2 separate regions of the Homo sapiens genome follow, and region 1 is linked to region 2. Evidence: promoter capture Hi-C in 16 types of primary human blood cells and fetal thymus (Javierre and others, 2016). All regions are on one chromosome and are shown on one strand. Each heading gives the region's core, a stretch centred on a gene start or on the middle of the fragment in contact. The rest is flanking DNA. Distances are from core to core; before and after follow the strand shown. Region 1 overlaps INTS10 (integrator complex subunit 10). Region 2 holds the start of SH2D4A (SH2 domain containing 4A).

Region 1 (6,866 bases), core at 3,371-5,870, 510 kb before region 2:
ACATTTGGATATAACATTTCTTTAGAAATATTTTACTACAAGCACCACTTCTCCTTTATGAAGGATGGAAGCAGCAACCTGCCCATTCCGACACCACCTCATTCGTGAATTATCGACTATCTCCATTCAAGGTCTAAGATGCTGGAGAACAGTACAGCCAGGCAGACTCCACCAGCAGAGAGAGGAGGGTGAGAAGTAATCCTCTTTTACCGAAAAGTAAAAATCTTACTTTTACAGAGAGGTGTGATTGGATATACCAAAAGTAACACAGAAGGTACAGGCTTGTCATTTTGGAGTTTTTGTTTCGTTTTGTTTTTGAGACAAGGTCTCACTGTCACCCAGGCTGGGGTGCAGTGGCGCTATCATGGTTCAGTGCAGTCTTGACTTCCTGGGCTCAAGTGATCCTCCCGCCTCAGCCTCCTGAGCAGCTGGAACTATAGGCACATGCCACCACACTTGGCTAAGTTTTTTATTTTGTAGAGACAGGGTCTCACTATGCTGCCAGGGCTAGTCTCGAACTCCTGGGCTCAAGCAATCCTCCCACCTCGGCCTCCCAAAGTGCTGGGATTACAGGCGTAAGCCACGACACCCGGCCGATAGTTACTTTGAAAGGAAAATGGACCATACCCCCTCAGCCACTGAAAACAGAACAGGTGTCAGGAGGCAGTGGACTAGCCCAAGAGGGAACATGACACATTCTGCATAGGAAAGCTGGTTTGCCACCATAGCCATGCTGTACAGACACAGGTACCTAAAATATGTATAATACTCTACCTGATAGATGATCATATCAGTGAGGAAGATTCTTAACCAAAGCCAAGTATCCGTCTTCCAGGCCAAGCAAATCCTTGTAAATTCTGAGTAAGAATTCAAGAACAAATTTACCAAATATATGCAGCAAAGAAGCAGAAAACAAACTAACAAATCCAGTAAGAGAGAAGAGAGACAACCTACCAAAAATGTATAGTAACTTTGACTTTGATTTCTAACACACTGCTCTAGAATTTCAAGTAGAGAAGAAACATACAACACTTATCAGTAATACACAAGCAATATTTTGTAGATGCTAACAACTTACTGAGCACATACCAGGTGCCAAGAACTGTTTAAAGTGCTTTTCATGTATTTCCTCATTTATCTTTTAAGCCACTTTGCTTTCCCCAAAACAAGGTCCCATTTTATTTTTATCTTATTTTTAGAGACATTCTCCCTGTCACCCAGGCTGGCAGTACAGTGGCCCTAACATGGGTCACTGCAGCCTCAACCTTCCGGCCTCAAGCAGTCCTCCTACCTCAGCTTCCTGAATAGCTGGCACTACAGACACATGCCATCACTCTTGGCTAAGTTTTGTTTTTGTTTTTTTATAGAGACGGGGTTTTGCCATATTGCCCAGGTTAGTCTCTAACTCCTGAGCTCAATGATCCACCTGCCTCAGCTTCCCAAAGCACTGGGATTACAGGCATGAGCCATCTTGCCTGGCCCATTTTATTTTGACCTAATTAAAATAACAAACATACAATGACACTAAAAGGTTTTATTCATTTTTAAAAAAATCAATTTCTAACTAAAGGAAAGATCCCCTCCAAAATTGTCACATATGTGTTCACAATCCCAAATGTAACAAAGAGAAACTGAACGGTGCTGAATTTACTTAGAAAAGATGACACAGCACATCTGGCCAAGGGCTCTGTATGACACATGACTGCAGCCAGGGGATGAATGTCCACGGGCTAAAAGTAAAATAAGGGGCCCCGATTCCAAAGTGTAGTAAGAATACCTTAGTTAGCAAACAGCTAGTGATTTCTAAGCAATGTCAAAATACCCAGTATACTCAAAGGAAAATAGGCTTCCTATAGTTTTTGGATTTTGAGTTTTTCAGACAATGGAGTTAATGCAGATAAAAACAGCAATATGGCTGGGCATGGTGGCTCACGCCTGTAATCCCAGCACTTTGGGAGGCCAAGGTGGGCGGATCACGTGGTCAGGAGTTCAAGACCAGCCTGATCAACACGATGAAACCCCGTCTCTACTAAAAATACAAAAAGTTAGCCGGGCATGGTCGCACGTGCCTGTAGTCCCAGCTACGAGGAAGGCTGAGGCAGAAGAACTGTTTGAACCCAGGAGGTGAGCGTTGCAGTGAGCCAAGATAACACCATTGTACTCCGGCCTGGGTGAAAAAGAGTGAGACTCCGTCTCAAAACAAGAAAAAAAAAATGCATGAACTACTGTAATCAACTTAATTTGCCGTAAGTGACCTGACATTTGAAGTAGCGTAATGATTTTATATAAAACATCAAACAGCACCAATGACATGCGCTTTCTTACCTTTGTCAAGGAATTCTAGGGAATAGAGCAACTCCCAGCTCTCCCTGGCCAATTTAAAGCTTTCTAACACTTCAGTGGAGTTAGCAAGTTCGGCTTTATTGACTACAATGTGACGATTTCTTCCTTTCGCCGAACAGTCTTCATCGTCTGAACTCTGCTTAAAGAATGTGGAGAACATGGTTAATTCAGTTATAAATATAGTCATATATGGAAACATATTATTGCTGCCAGTTTGGCCCGTGATATGAATTTTATATCAAAGGATACCACATACATACAATTTTTTTGAATTTAACAATTTAGCTTTGAAAATTAATTTTTTTTTGTCTTTATACTCTCACACATTCCATTTTTACTTCTAAAATTGAGTGAATTTTTTTTCTGATGTTAAATTCTTATGTTTGCTTATGGTGGTTTTAGAGCAAAGTTTAAAAATATCAATTTTATGAAAGTCAAAATTTAGATTTTTACATTGAGAGACACAGCTTAAACAGCACCTGTTTATAGTTTACTTTTTTTTCTAATACGTGACATGATTTAATTGGCTTCCAAATAATGGTTTGGCATGTACTGGGATAAAATTAAAGCCTGGGGCCGGGCGTGGCAGCTTATGCCTATATTCCCAGCACTTCGGGAGGCCGAGGAGGACAGATCACTTAAGGCCAGGAGTTTGAGACCAGCCTGGCCAACATGGCGAAACCCAGTCTCTATTAAAAATACAAAGTCAGCCGGGCATGGTGGCACGTGCCTGTAATCCTAGCTACTCAGGAGGTTGAGACACAAGAATTTCTTAAGCCCGGGAGGCAGAGGTTGCAGTGAGCAGAGACCGCACCACTGCACTCCAGCCTGGGCGACAGAGCAAGACTCTGTCTCAACAACAACAAAATTAAAGCCTGCGTCCTCTAAGAAATAATGTCAGAGAATAACTGTTAGTTATCTTTGGTTCACTGCGCATGACTCCCCTGCACTGGTCACCCCTCTCTCGCTCTCCTCCCCCAGTGCAAGGTCCTGGTCAGAAAGTACATTTGTCTGCACTTACCTAGTAAAGCCCTCTGTATTTTACAATACACATTTCTACTTTTCTTGCTCTTCATCTCAAGTAATATAAAGCCCACAGAAAAGAGAAGGCTACAGAGAAAGGCAATTATTGGAAATACCGCTGGGTAGAGTCAGATGTTTTGCCAAAAAAAAAAATGTAAAGGTAAAAGCAGCTCCACTGAATTTTATTTTGCTAAGAATTTTCTCAATCTTTTAATCCACCTAGGTCATTTTACTGATTTAATAACCCAAATGAAATTCTTCCTGCAGATCTTTACTCCACTAAGATCATTTAAAAATATGTGCAACTACATGTATACATATGTAACAAACCTGCACGTTGTGCACATGTACCCTAGAACTTAAAGTATAATAATGATAAAAGAAAACCTAAAAAATAAATAAATAAATAAAAATATGTGCAACTACTGTCACTAAAAGCTCCAATCCTCAAGCTCATCTCAGGTAAGGTGCGCAGGAAGCTGTCAGCACCTCCCTCCACTGCCCACCTTCCTTTCCACTTTCTGAGCTTGGTATCTTCCTGCTAGTCCCTGTTCTTGGTGACTTTTCCCTACCCCACTGTTCTGCTGCATGTTCTTATCCTCCCTAAGTAATGTTTTTGCATTGGGAAAAACACACCTTTTCCAATCAAAACCTGTCTACCAGGCCAGGTGTAGTGGCTTACCCCTGTAATCCCAGCAATTTTGGAGGCCAAGGTGGGAGGATTGCATGAACCCAGGAATTCAAGAACAGAGTAGGCAACATAGAAAGACCTTGTCTCCACCAAAAAAAAAAAAAACCACAACCGTATCTGCCAGGTACTGTTTCATCAGGGGCCTGTTCTTTGCCAAGTAACGGCAACCTAATATCATACACGAACACACATGGCGCGTCTGCTAGTGCTGCAGCTTACAGAAAACATTCCTGCCTCAACACGAGATCAGGAATTTATGAAAGGACCCCAGATGTGGTGGGACTAGTGTGAGTTCCAAATGTTTTTACATTTAAAGAAACTGATTTTGAAATGTGCAAGTACACTCTGAAGCACTGAGAGCGTGCTCTGAAGCAAGAATGCAGCAGGTGGGGGACAGATGCCCACAGGAGAGGCCTGTCCCAGCACCAGCCATTTATGACGTCACATGAGTCTGTGATGTCAGCTGGCTGGAGAACTGATGTGGGCCACCCCCCAACTCCAGTTGTGGGTTACCACCAGGGGCCAGTGTGATCAGATATCCTAATTACAAAAAGGAAGTCAGAAATCTGGATTGTTATGAGAAATGCTAGGTTTCTATTTTATTTTTTTATTTTTTATAGACGGGGTCTCCCTCTGTTGCTCGGGCTGGAGGGCGGTGGTGTGGTCATCACTCACTGGAACCTTGAACTCCTGAGCTCAAGGGATCTTCTCATCTCAGCCTCTGAAGCAGTTGGGATGATAGGTGCATGCCACCAGCCAGCTAGTTTTTTTTTTCATTTTTTATAGAGACGGGGTCTCACTATATTGCCCAGGTGGGTCTTAAACTCCTGGGCTGGTGATCCTCCTCTTTTGGCCCCCAAAGTGCTGGGATTACAGGCATGAGCCACTGCACCCAGCCTGGTTTCTAATTTTTAAATACTAGGTTATTTAAACAAACAAAACACTGTGAGCAAAGCAAGATATATGTGAGCTGAGCTCATGGGCCTTTAAGGTCTGGACCTGCATCAGGTTGGGGCAGACTCAGGGATAGAATGATAATCAGGACAAAATCAGTTAAGACCATGAAAACAAAAATGGATGGAAATTCCGCATTGGGTAGAAGGCCAGGTTATGAGAACAGGGCTTGCTAGATGAGTGCTTGACAGGCAAAAAAAACCGGAAGGAAGAACCGCTGGACCAGGTTTAAACAGCCATCCCATAGCCTGGACACCAAACCCAGGAGGGATCAATGAGAATTCCCTCCTTCACCAGATGCTCACCACACACCTGCTCCAGCCCAGGCACTACTCAGATGCCCAGGGTATGGTAGAGGACGAGGCAGAGAAAATGCTAGGCCCCACGGAGCTTGTACTCTAGTGAAGGAGGGACAGAGACAGTAAACCAGTCAGTGAATAAACAAGAAAAAACAGACAGCAAGGAGGATGCTGCAGAGAATTAAAAAAGAGGAATAAAAAGAGAGAACCAGACAGCTACTTCAGATGGGTGTTCAGGAGAAGCCTCAGAGGGAGACTCGTTTGGGCTGGGACCAAGTGACAAGGACCTAGCCAGGCAGAGATCCAAGGGAAAAGCACTGTAACCACAGAGCACAGCTTCAACGGGCAGAGGCTGGGAGGCAGGGACGGGCTCGGGGTACTGCCTGGTCAGGTTAGAGGACTGACGATTCTTCACATTCTCGGGCTTCTTGCATCTTTGTGCACACTTTTCCCTCTCAACAAAATCTACCTCCCAATTCCAACTGACAAAACCCTTCGCCTTTCAGCACTGATTTCAAATGTTGACCTCCTTCATGAAATCTTTTCTGCATCTGCCCATAGGCTGTTCCTGCTGCCCTGCCCACCTCAGAGCTTCCCATTCCGAGGCCAGTACCCCACACTGCACCCTGCTCTAGAGGTCCAATGCCATTTTGCTTTTGTTGTTTAAACTGAATCGATGCCATTCAGTCAAAACATGTATAAGGAACATATACCATGGGTTCTCCACCTCATCACTGACCTTTTGGGTGGTCCTGTACACTGTAAAGTGCTCAGCAGCAACCCTGGCCCCTCCCCACCAAGCTGTGACAACCAAAAATGTCTCCAGACATTGCCAAATGTCCCCTGAGGGCAAATCACCTCCAGTGGAGAACCACTGACTTAGTAATTATTAATATATCATACAATTTTAAAACCCAGGCTTTATCGATTTAGCTCCAAAGCCATATTTTACAAAGATTCATCTCTAGCAAAGCGTCCCATCCAATCTGTTAATAAGTATATTTGAAAGCCTTACCATGGTTTTTTCTCTTCCTTCAGCTAGTTTCCTCTTTTTATGGATGTGTTTATTACGATCAATTTCTACATCACCATACACATTCGATACATCTTCAAGAAGAACCAGTGGAACTTGGCTCGGGGCATTAGGACCTAAGGACGGGGAAAAACACCAACACTTACCAGTGCAGCAAGGAGGCCAGGCGCGGTGGCTCATGCCTGCAATCCCAGCCCTTTGGGAGGCTGAGGCAGGAGGATTGCCTGAGCTCGGGAGTTCAAAACCAGCCTGGGCAACATGGCGAAACCCCATCTCTACTAAAAATACAAAACATTAGCCGGGCATGGTAGCATGCGCCTGTTAATCCCGGCTACTCGGGAGGCTGAGGCAGGAGAATTGCTTGAACCCAGGAGGCGGAGGTTGCAGTGAGCCGAGATCACGCCACTGCACTCCAGCCTGGGCGACAGAGCGAGACTTAAAAAATAAATAAAATTAAAAAAAATTTAAAAATGCAGCTAGGAAAAGAATTCTTAAAATAAGGGAGAAGCTTACTCAACTGTCA
Region 2 (6,696 bases), core at 4,181-6,680:
CTAACTTTATACAGGTCAATCTCAGGCAAACAAAAAAAGTTCACAGAGGTTTGTCCAGCTCCCAACTAAGCAAACACATTATTACCCCAGAGCCTAACAAACCACCAACTGTGTGGCTGAAAAAAGAAAGAAAAAAAAAAGTCACAGGAAGAAATTAAAAGGCTCTCTGCAAAGTACCTATTTCAAAAGAAAATACCACTTTTGATATGTCACAGAGTAACTCATCCCAAACCAAACCAAAATAGAGCCATGCTCAAGGAAGAAAAAGGAAGAAATAAAAACTAGACCACCATGCATTTTCTGCAATTTCCCTAAAAAGTAGCATTAAATAAACAAAATTATGTACTTTCCTCTTCACAAAAGGATAATGTAATTTCCAGATAACCTACTAGAGCCATGAAAATCAGGGCAGGTGCAAGAGAGAACATCCATCTACATTCTGGAAGGTCACCGAGTTTTAGGTGTGCTTTTTCCAGATAACCTAGTTTAATAAAATCTAAATGGACAGACCAGATAAACTAGGGGGATGAAGAGGTCATTAGGTTCATAACAAAGGATCCTTCATTTATATGACTTTACCGCATGGCTCCTTGAAAGAGAAACCATAAAGCGAGAGTGCACAGTGGCCTCCTAGAAGTTCTCCTGTGGTTGGAAATCCTACTGAGGTTTCATTCTACTTTCCACATTTCTATTTTAAAATATTGGCTTAAAAATATTACCACACTGTCATACTTTCTCTCTCTATTTTTAAACAATTTCTAAGTCCCATAAACCATCATACTTTTGTAATCAGCAGGAAACTATGTAAATATATCTATTCTGGAAAACAAAAGACTTTGGATTCGATGTAATAAGATATAAGAAAAAAAACTTACTACAACTTTTCAGAATCACATGTGTCCTAAGAAATTGACCAATAGGCCAGGCGGGGTGGCTCACGCCTGTAATCCCAGCACTTTGGGAGGCCAAAGAGGGGGGATCACGAGGTCAGGAGTTCGAGACCAGTCTGACCAGTATGACCAACATCTCTACTAAAAAAACAAAAAATACAGAAATTAGCTGGGCATGGTGGTGGGTGCCTGTAATCCCAGCTACTCAAGAGGCTGAGACAGGAGATCGCTTGAACCTAGGACGCAGAGGTTGCAGTGAGCCGAGATCGCGCCACTACACTCCAGCCTGGGCAACAGAGGGAGACTCTGTCTCAAAAATAAAAAAAGAAAAAAAAAAGAAATTGACCAATAATTTGTTATTTATAATAACACCTCAATAATCTTACCACCTTGCCATGTGCTCTCAAATACGTTGTTTCTCCATACTATGTTCAAACAGTCTTAAACTTCAGACAAGTCACTTAGCTATATTATGACCATCGTAGTGTTGTTGGTTTCTCTTCGTTCACCTTGTCATTGATACAGTTAGATTTGTAATGCCCCTCTCACCATCTGGGGGCCTCCTTCAGCTTCCCGTCTTCCTCCTCTTCCGTGCAAAGTAGTTCCTTGATTTACACCTGTCTTTTGAGACAAGCACGCTCAACAGCTAGGCTACCACAGAGTGGTGTGCATACTCAGCTCTTAGATTCGCTGACTGTTCATTGTGAAGCCAGGCCCTTGATGAAACTACACCTATCCCTACTGACTGCAACCTATCATCTCGGCAGCATTCAACTACCAGAATCCAAATGGAACCAAACATTAAGAGAAAAATTTTAAAGGACTAAAAGTAATATCACGCCCTTCCCAGATCCACTTGCCAACTTTGTATTTTGCATTGAGATACCCTTAAAGGCTTGAACAGCCAAAAAAAAAAAAAAAAAAAAAAATGGATGTCTTGTCAAGATTTCTTGACTTTTGACTTTTTGTTTCTAGCAGCTTCTCAAAGGGTGGAGCCAATGAAATCCACAAGCTCCAAGATAAAGTGGTAAGAAAGGAGACAGAATGACTCCTTGACATTCCAGTAAATGTCCTTAAGTTCAATGGTTGGTTTTCGCAGAAATCACACACGGCAGAAGATGAACAGTTCAGCTGGGGTTGAGACTTCTGCTGTGTTCCCCATTTTGAATGCAGCGAATCCTATTCAAGGCATGGGTAGATCCTAGAATCTAAAACCCTTAAAGTGTCAAAGTCATATTCCTCCAGTCTCCCCCGCCCTGCATATTCCTGATAACACAGCTAACACTTCTTGTACCAGGCACCATCTTAATTAAGCACTCTACATGTGTTAACTCACTTAATCTTCACAATAACCCTTGGAGTCCAGCCCATCACTATGCCCATCTCACAGATTAGGAAGATAGAGCACAGGTCAGCAGCTGGTAAGCGGCAGAGCCGGGCAGTCCAGCTCTAACTCAGCTTCACTGTAATACACAACACAGAGGCCTTTTTGTGAGTTTATTTGTGTGCCCAGAATCAGAACAGCAGGATGTGGTGCCATGTATGAAATTTCAGAATGGAAGCCAGCAAATTCCTGCAGCAACAGAAACGCTGAACTGATGGTGCTTGACACAGGGCAGAAGCCTCCTCCTGGTCAACTGTAGCTAAGCTTAGGGGAGGCCAGGTGCACACACCCCAGCCAGGAAGGACAGCAAGGAACCGACTGTCACACTGACCCAGGTGTGGACATTGCTTACCCACGTATTCACCAGACACTTAGTCCCATTTCCCCTTGCACTTAGTCATCCACTTCGTCTCTACAATTTCCCCTTCCAAACAAACACTAAGAACAGCACAAAAAGCACAGCCTCTCACATGTGCAAGGAGGTTCATGGCACCTCTGTGATGAAATTCTCACATTATTTCCATTTTTATGTTGTTTTGTTTTACTTTTTATAGCAAACGTGGATTTCTAACATTAAAATTAACTAGTTCATCTTGAAGGAAAGACACTGGCTTCCTTGTGCCTCCAAGAATACTTGGGGGACCCAGCCGACAACTATCTGTGGTCAGGCCGTTGACGATGTGGCCATTCTGCCACTGCTGAATGGTACTGGTGTAAATCACCTGTCCCCCTCACCCTCTAATTCCCAACCCCTAACCCCCGCTCCAAGGCTTTCTCAGACCCCAACTCAAGCTCAGCACAGTACACCCAAGACACCCAGAGGCACTCCAGCCTCAACTCCCAGCTCCGCCTCTAGTGAGCGGTGTGACTCTGTGCTGTCACCTCACCTCCTTGGGACTCAGTTTCCTCATCTGTGAAACGAGGACTGGTTCAGTCTGTGACTTCTAATGTGTGGGTATCTGACATAATCTACTGTGAAGCGAAGGAGCCTGGTGGAGCCAGGGTAGAAGAAATAGAAATCAGGAAATTAACTAACTAGGGCTTTCCTACTTTCACTCCCTGACAAGGAAGTAATCATTGCTGATACTGATTCAAACTCAGAGGACTTTCCCATACTATATCAAGGGCAGCAAATCTCCGGTTATTCAAGATCCAACAAAGGAATAGCTCAGCTAACACAGCCCCTTTCTTAAAAGAGAGAAATGATAAGCAACAAGCCCACACCTGCTATTTATTCTGAACACCAATTGCTAAAAGGTCAGAGAATCCGTTGTTTTCCATGATACCATAGATTTGGCCTGATTCTCACACCTTCACACTGTTCTACAATACAACTGTCTTTTGAATAACTCTGAGACCTAAACAAAATACAATTTTAAAAGGCCTTAGATACAGGCTAAATCATAAAAATAGTAGGCGGGCACAGTGGTTCTACATGTAATCCCAACACTTTGGGAGGTGGACATGGGTGGATTGCTGGAGCTCAGGAGTTCAAGACCTGCTTGGGCAACATGGCAAAACTCCGTCTCTACATAAAGTATAAAAATTAGCCAGGCGTGGTGGCCCGCACCTATAGTCCCACCTACTTGGGAGGTTGAGGTGGGGGGATCTCTTGAGTTGGAGAGTTTGAGGCTACAGTGAGCCGAGATCGCACCACTGCACCACAGCCTGGGTGACAGAAGGAGACCCTGTCTCAAAAATTAAAAACATTAGGTCGGTGCAAAAGTTATTGTGTTTTACATGGCCAAAAAAAAAGTAACTGCGGTTTTTTTTACGTAAAAACCGCAATTACTTTTGCACCGACCTAATAAAATAAAAAATAAATAAAAGTATTGTGGTATGGACAGTGTAACTATAACATTAACAATACAGTTTGAATTCTAATTCTTTTAAAACAGCCAGCTCTGTGGTCCAACTTTGTTTTCTTATTGAAACTTTATCTTATTCATCTACCAGCAAAAGGGCTGTTTTTGAGGATGAAACAAATTACCAGAGATGACAGCAGTTTGTAAATATATACTATTCTTCAGAAATTTGAGATTACTGTACACACAGATTTAGTATACATAGAGAATTCCACTCATATGCCAAATCTATGCCCCTGTATGCTTTCCACTTATTTATTCACTATTTTAAAATAATCGTACCCAAGTCGTTGTTTCTATTAAACCAGCAATCAAACGAAAGCCTTTGGAGCGATGAGGAGCATCTGTTTGAAAGGGGGAGGTGCCACGCTTGCTGCTTCTCTAAGCTCCCTGGGAAGGGAGAGACAACTCAGAAAACCTACAAACTGTAGCTCCTTCCGGTGCCCGCGTGACCCCCGAGTCCAGGAGCGGGCAGGGGCGCCGCTTGGCTGAGCGCACTGGGCACCCGGTCTGGGTCTGGGCCAGCCCCGCCGCTGCAGCCCGAGGGAGGCGGCGCTGCACTGGCCTCCGCGCGCTCCCAGACCCCACGTGGGGGCGCCCCTGGGTGCCGGTGCGCGGGGAACGTGCTGCGGGGGTGCTGCGCCAGCTGCCACCGTTTCCCGGGACTTCCCTCCTGGAAGATTTCCATGCGCAAGTCGAGGACGTGCTCCTGCTAGGAGTCTAGAAACTCTAGGCCAGCCCGGACCCTCCCGGGGCCTGCACTCCCCGCGGGTGGAAGCACGCGCCGCGTGTCCCTGCCGGATTCCAGAACTTCCCCGAAGGTCCTCAGCCCCGGCAGACCCTCTCCCTCGAAGTTCCCCCGCCACCCCCTGCAAGCCCCCAGGCCCCGGGGACCGCCGCTCACCTAGCCAGCGGCTCCAGACACCGGACACCGGACACCGGACACCGGACACCCGCCGCGGCCGCTCTCGCCGCCCAACCCCGCACCTGAGCCCGCCCCGGGCGCCGCGAAGGGGTGGAGGCGGGGGTGAGGCTTCCGCCCGCCCGCTCTGGCCCCTGCGCCTCCCATGCACCCATGCAACCTCCGAGGAAATTCCCTTCCCCCTACTCCCACCCCACGCACACTCTCCCCAAAGCCTCGCCCCACCCCCAGCACCTACCAGTGCTGGGCGCCCCTGGGCAGGGTGGCTCGATCACCCGCCACATCCACTTGGCCGCCAGAAGCCGTCGGGGAAGGGAGGGAGGGAAAGGCAGAGGCGTCCCAAGCGGCGCAGGCGGGCTGAGCAAATACTCCGGCCCGGACGCAAAACAGCTCTTGTAGCCGTCCCGCCCGCGCCGCCCCGCCGCGCCCACATGCCGGGGTGACTGGCGGGGCGCAATCGCGGCCCCACCCGGGCGCCTGGAGGCTCTCCAGGGCCACTCGTCGGCGAGGCTGCGTGGCCTGCGCATCTCGGGCCGCCTGGCCCGCGCGCTGTCCCCGAGCTGCGGTAGTCCGGGGTAGGCTTGTCCTCTCCTCTCTTAGTTCATGAGACAGGGATCTGCAGTCTGTGATCTCTTGGGGACTGCAGGACTTAGATTAAATCTGCAGATCTGGGCCTTTCCACGTTTCAGAGCTCGGGGTTCCTTGCTAGGTGTAGGGTAGGAGGGTGCGCAGGCCCCACTTGTTCACTCTGCTTGGGTGCTGCAGGCCAAGGCGACTCTGGAGCTTTTTTTTTTTTTCTTTTGTTGACATTAAGTAAATGATCAAACTCTTTGGCACTTGTCGGTACACGTGTGGCTTTGTAGGACAAGATGAAGGAAGGAAAAGGCTGGAAGGAAGGAGACCGCAGTCAACACAGACAGGTGGAGAAAATGAAAGAAAACTGGGGGAAAAGTTAAGATGCTGAAAGGAGTCTTGAGGATTGCAACAAGAACAGGTTGGCTTGGTGCCTGAAGACGTCAGGGAGGAGCTGGCAGTCCACAGTTAGAGGAAATCTTGGAGGAAAATTGAGCAGAAGCACAGTGGAAAGGCATTTCCACTGGAGGGCATTTTCCATCCTAGAGGAGCATGTGGAAGAAAACCGCCTGCTTTGGTGAACCCCAGATTTTGTGTATTGGGAGAGATGTAATAAACAGTAAACACCAGTAGTCCTCTCCACGGACTACCTGACCTCTTTAGGAGCCTGACCTGCTGGATTCAAACACAAAATGGCATTTCCCTGCCTCTCCAAACTGCAGAAGCTGTGCAGAGTTACATCAAGCCTCGGGGCAGGCGGCATTGTCAGGAAATAAGACCCAGCTATTTAGGAACAATTCCAGGAATCCCATCAGGGAGGAATTTCTGGTGTAAGGCTTAGTTCCTACTGCAGTTTAAATGATAGCATATGGGGTGCTTTAGGCTGGAGTGGGATTGGCCCCTGGAAAGCTGCTATGACGAGGTCAGAATGAATCCTAGCCCTGCATGGATGCATCAGTTGAACCATACAGGGTGGTTTATCAGTTAGGAAAAATCCCACAGGACACTGTGACAGCCTACCTTCCTCACACCCAGTCTCTCTCCAGGTCCTGGCAAGTCCTT

The links. The method cuts DNA at HindIII sites, captures the fragments that hold promoters and counts their contacts. A CHiCAGO score of 5 or more calls a contact.
Region 1: a fragment that was not itself captured here is called in contact with the fragment with the promoter of SH2D4A in region 2 in 1 of 17 cell types (non-activated CD4 T cells); the score reaches 5.1 in non-activated CD4 T cells.

What each region holds. Positions count from the first base shown.
Region 1 is chr8:19,826,019-19,832,884 of GRCh38, reverse strand. It overlaps INTS10 (integrator complex subunit 10), which reads right to left. Exons shown (of 17, transcript NM_018142.4): 9 at 6,326-6,459; 10 at 2,326-2,479; 11 at 775-857. Among named protein-coding and RNA genes, the nearest start is that of INTS10, 12 kb to the right of the region's middle. The HindIII fragment of the contact is 4,467 bases long and covers 2,387-6,853 here.
Region 2 is chr8:19,312,427-19,319,122 of GRCh38, reverse strand. SH2D4A (SH2 domain containing 4A) reads right to left here and starts at 5,430. Exons shown (of 10, transcript NM_022071.4): 1 at 5,300-5,430. The HindIII fragment of the contact is 8,347 bases long and covers 2,541-6,696 here.